Linked DNA regions of Homo sapiens: region 1 is linked to region 2. Evidence: promoter capture Hi-C in human tissues and cell types (Jung and others, 2019). All regions are on one chromosome and are shown on one strand. The core of a region is centred on a gene start or on the middle of the fragment in contact, and the rest is flanking DNA. Distances in the headings are between cores, read along the strand shown. Region 1 has its middle 5.1 kb from the start of HRAT17. Region 2 holds the start of GPR85 (G protein-coupled receptor 85).

Evidence for each region. Contacts are between HindIII fragments. The study calls those that stand out against the background at their distance.
Region 1: a contact is called between a fragment that was not itself captured here and the fragment with the promoter of GPR85 in region 2, in 2 of the 25 tissues and cell types used here (IMR-90 fibroblasts and spleen).

Annotation. Positions count from the first base shown.
Region 1 is chr7:112,999,423-113,002,122 of GRCh38, forward strand. No RefSeq gene overlaps it. Among named protein-coding and RNA genes, the nearest start is that of HRAT17, 5.1 kb to the left of the region's middle. The HindIII fragment of the contact is 7,892 bases long and covers 1-2,700 here.
Region 2 is chr7:113,085,346-113,088,118 of GRCh38, forward strand. It overlaps GPR85 (G protein-coupled receptor 85), which reads right to left and starts at 1,482. Exons shown (of 3, transcript NM_001146267.2): 1 at 977-1,482; 2 at 647-764. RefSeq lists a silencer at 1,168-1,227. The HindIII fragment of the contact is 9,773 bases long and covers 1-2,773 here.

The sequences.
Region 1 (2,700 bases), core at 26-2,525, 86 kb before region 2:
ACAGGCATGAGCCACTGCGCTCAGCCCAGAATGGCTATTGTTAAAAAGTCAAAAAATAACAGATGCTGGAGAGGTTGTGGTGGAAAGGGAAAACTTATACACTATTGGTGGGAGTGTAAATTAGTTCAGCCATTGTGGAAAGCAGTGTGATGATTCCTCAAAGAGCTAAAAATAGTACTACCATTTGACCCAGCAATCCTATTACTGGGTGTATACTCAAGGAATAGAAATCAGTCTACCATAAAGACACGTGCATGCAAATGTTCATTGCAGCACCATTCACAATACTATTCACAATAGTAAAGACATGGAATCAACCTAAATGCCCATCAAAGGTGGACTGGATAAAGAAAATGTGGTACATATACACCATGGAATACTATGTGGCCATAAATAAGGAAATTATGTCTTTTGCAGGAACATGGATGGAGCTGGAGCCCATTATCCTCGGCAAACTAATGCAGGATCAGTAAACCAAATACCACATCTTCTCACTTATAAGTGGGAGCTAAATGATGAAAACACATGGACACATAGAGAACAACAGACACTGGGACCTACCTGAGGGTGCAAGGTGGTAGGGAGGAAAGGATCAGAAAAAATAACTATTGGGTACTAGGCTTAGCTCCTGGATGATGAAATAATCTGTATAGCAACCCCCCATGACATGAGTTTACCTATATTACAAACCTGCACATGTACCTCTGAACCTAAAATAAAAGTTGTTTTTTTAAAAAGAAACACAAGTAATCCCCTTTTTATCCAGGGTTTCATTTTCTGTGATTTCAACCACAGTCCAAAAATATTAAATGGAAAATTCCAGAAATAAGCAATTCATAACTTTAAAAAAATAAAAAATAAAAATGATTTTCATTATAATACTCAAAGTCTCATATGCACAATGCTACCATTTTAAGTGCTGTTTGTTGTTTTAATTTCCTAGTCTAAGTATTTGTAAGAAAAAAACAGTTTCTATGATTCCAAATTTGCTCAATGGCCCAAAGGATAAGCACAACTTGCCTCTCCTACCAACAGATATTTTGAATTTACTCTGTTGCTGGGGAGCATATTGGTCTGCATTTTCTGATGTTTGTGGCAGAGGATGGCTCAGTCCTGGTTAAGTGTGGTCAAAAGTAGAACTTAACACAACTTTAAGATTAAACACACAAAGACGACCCACGTTTTGTGGCTTTAAAACTCTTACGTGTAGCCTTACATGTAGATTCGGATTTTTTTTATGGTGGTGTGTTCTCAGTATATATTCATGTATTCACTCTTCTTACTTAATAGTTCGTATAGAGATTAAGAAATCTCTCTTAATTGTTAAAACAGATTTCTCTCAGGCTCTCCAGCTTCTGGTACAGACAAACTGTACAGGAAATGCAGCTGCTTCTCTTGTTTCTTAATGACTAATTATTGTATCCTAGTGCCTTGCACATACTGCTTAGAGTTGAATTCAAGTAGATTGTTGTTTTTTAAGAGTATCCTAGCAGTAAGATTAGGATTTTTCCATGGGTTATTTTACTCAATAAAACAGCACGGTAGCATGTGCCCTTTCTTTCTGTAAATATAGATGAAGAAATATCTTCTCAAACAAGCTATGCTTTACCCAACTGATAGCATTGAAAAATTAAAAGATTATAGTGAATAATATATGCGTATTAGGATCCTTAAAAGACTGGATAATTGGAGTTGTCAGTACAATAATCACCTCAGTTTTGAGTGTCATCTTTCAGGTAAATTAGACTCAGATTTGACACAGAGAAGTAATAGAAAAATAATTTGAAAAACCATTTAAAATGTTTGCTTTGCTCAAGCTTTCGAGTTCAAGTTTAGTTCTATAAATTAAATACCCACATCCATAGTTACTTAATTAGAGGATAAACCAATTCTCAAAACATTTAGTAATAATAGCAATAAATAGGTGTAATATATCTGCCAAGCAAGTGTCAAGTCTTATATTTTGCATTATCTCATTTAATAGTCACAGTTATTGTTACCACTATTTTACAGGTGAGGAAACTGAGACTTAGGGAAATTAAGTAACTTATTCGAATTTGCATAGTTAATAAGTGGTAGAATTTTAATTCGGTACTGTTAATCCTTACAGTTCAAAAATGATAGTATTTTTCAATAAAATGGAAATTTGTTTTTAATGAAAATGGAAATTTCCCTTGCTTGGCACTTGATGTTGTCTCAGAAACCCAATCTGAAGAAGAGATTTGCATTTCTTCTATTTCATCCAATTCACCCTCAACCTGGGAATATTCATAAAAAAGAGAACAAATTGTGTAGATATTGGGAACAGCTTGTTTGAAACCCATTAACTTTTACTTTTTAACTATCAAGATTTTAACCACTGTGGGTATTAGGTGAAATCTATCACTTAAGAAAATTGCAAATGCCTCCCTTGGGAGGAAATTAACTCAAATCTATGAAGCTAAGACTACAAACTCTGTGACTGGATGGTACACACTTTAGCAGCACTAGTCAATTAAACCTCATAATCCTATTGAAATAGAGCACTAGCTTTCCCAAGAGGCCACATCAGCTGACATCTATAACCTTCAACTTCAGATGCCCCTTGGAGTTTTTATTCTGGGTAGTCTGTCACTGGTTCCTGTTAGCTGTCTGAGGGGCTGGGAGTGGCAGCAGATTTCTAGATTTTCCAGGTTTGTGCAACCTAATGGGAGATAAAGC
Region 2 (2,773 bases), core at 232-2,731:
ACTATTCATGCTGCATAAGAGTATTTGTTGATTCATCTTAAAGCAAAATTTCAAAATTAACTTCAAAATTAATAGGAACTTACTTGTCCCAAGATTTGATGTGATTTAATCATTTGTCTTTCCCTCTCCACCCTACCCCCCATTTCTGGCAAATCTTTTAAGCCCACATGATTATTAAAATGGTTAATGTAAATATTGGACAGGGAAACACACCCAGAGGAATAATGCACTTCCATTTGTAAACCTTGGCTGCCTGGATTCAAATGAATATAACATGAACCTGTATTTCTTGGGCAATTAAGCCTTTCCCATTTACACTGATAACCTTTGTTGCAAATCACAAGTGGCTGCTTTTTAAAACAAAATGCACATTGTCTCGCAGGTGCCTGGACCACACCAGGGAAATCGGCTTCCTCTGTTATTCCCACCAAGCGTGTTTCTTTTGCCACTTCTCACTGGCCCGGAATATGCTGGTGGAAGCCCAGGCAAAACTGCGTTCGATGATTTTAATTTCCCCACCGGTACATCCTCGGGTAAATACCGATCGCATCATGCAACATTACGAAACCTGAAATCCGCCACCCCTGGATTTATAATGGGGGGAGGGTGGAGGAGGGGGAGAGGGAGAGAGACATGCATTACATACGCGAAGATGGGGAGAGAGATTGCTTCTGTGCTGCAAAGGAACCGTTCCCGGTGATTCGCAGTCTGATATTCCTCAGTCTTGTAAGGCTTTCCAGAAATGGAGCTCTCAGTAAGCCCTACTGAAGATGCATTGTCTGAATGTACTTCCATTATGCAGTTTATTGTCACAAAACACATACACACACACACACACACACACACACAGAGACACACACACACACACACACACACACAACCTGAGGGAGGGCTCTTTCTCGGTGAACCTGCAGTTTCATCAACACTGTGCATTCCCCCACATCCCCCAAACTTAACCAAGAGTATATCCTCCTACCTGTTGGTGTTGGATATCCCGACAGACTATAGCTTCTTTCTATAAATTGCTGATTTTTTTCTTTTTTTCTTTTTCTTTTTTTTTTTTTTTTTTTTGTTTTTTGTTTTTTTTTTTTTTTTTTTTGCCTTAGTGCCTTGACTGAGCATCCAGGCAGGGCTCGGCGGCGCCTGCGCGCTGGAGCCTCCTTGAGCTCCAGCCGCGTCCTCCCCTGTCGCAGCGGCACCGTCTCCCCCAGTAACGCAGGGGCCGCGGCGGCGGCGGCTGCGGTGGCGAGGGCGGCGGCGGGGCTGCTTCAGCCTCTGTGGAACCAGCAGGAACCCCTACCTGACTCCAGAGCTGGCTGGGTTTATTGACTGCCCTGTCCAATCCAACTGGCAGCATTAAGCTTTTGTCCCTTCGTGGCTGCTTCTGAACTTTTCCCTCCCCGCATTTGTAGTGGGGGGCTGGAAAGGCCCTTTCAGGACCTCAGGCCCATCCTCTTCCCAAAGGCAGCGCACGAGGAAGTCACAGTGCCCGTGACGCCCGCCCCCTCCCTCAGCTTCCCGGAACCCTAACCTTCCCCAGACACTTTCTTCCCTTTTCTTTTAGGGTGGTCCAAACCACCGGAGGCTTCTTTTATATATTTATTTTTAAGTGATGTCTCCAGCTAACCTTTAAATTTGCAGGTTAGCTGGAAAAAGACAAGAAAAGAATGGGAAAAAAGAAAAAAAGTTATTTATTTATTTATTTATCTTTTTCCCACAGTTAAAAATCTTTTCAATGGGGAAGAAGGGAAGGCACGTTAGGGCAGCTCTCTCTTTGTTAGTCATCTTCTATTCTCCAATGCACGCAAATATGCGTAAAAGTAGGGAGAAAGCTAAGTTCAGAGGACAACTACAATATGATTTACATTCAGTCTACCTTAAAGGATGTCACTAAAGAATCAGGCTTATAAAATGTTTAAATGGCTATTCCTGGCATTCCACCCCACCAAGCAACAGTATTCCTTTTCCCTTCTTACAAGTTCCGCTGACCAATGATGGGTGATGTCAAAGCAGTTATGTGTACGAGTTTCCTTTTTTCCCCTTTGTTATTACAGATGAAAAATACTAGAAATATAACAAATACGTAAAACTTACACCAGTCCAAACGGTCGGATGATACCACAGACACCACAAAGCCTGACACGTGGGTGCTTAGGAATGCCTCTAGAATCATGCATTTTCTTATTTTACCATTTCCGAAGAGTTTTGTTTGTGGAGGTGATATAAAATTTTAAGCAACAACTTCCCAGTTCTCCTACCCAAAACTAGCAGACACGCTTTCATTAATTCCCAATGTAAAACGTCTGCTTCTTTTTCTGCATGCTTTTTGCTTTATAATAATCTGTTAATGAAACAAAAAATAAAAATCTTCTCTACAGTAATAATCTGATCTTGAGACAGCAGTAAAATACCTCATTGCTGGGTGGTGAGATTGTGACATTCAGGGGAACTCAGGCCAATCAGCATACAGATAATATGGGTTAATTTACATACTGTATTTCTATTGGATGAGCCGAGGTAAAGCCTTATCTTGATGTCACAGTCGTTACACAAAGCCCTATGTTGGTAATACTGAAATGATGTTAAATTTCCCTGATTTGTTCTTGAATTTCCTACGTCCATTTAAATACATGGATAATAGTTTGTTTTTTTCGAAAAGAATATACACAAGGCACTAAACTTTGGCATTCCCTTAACCTAGAAAAATCAATCCTACAGCCATGCTGGAAGTAACTTGAGGGCATTTCCATTCAAATAAAACATTCCACTTTTT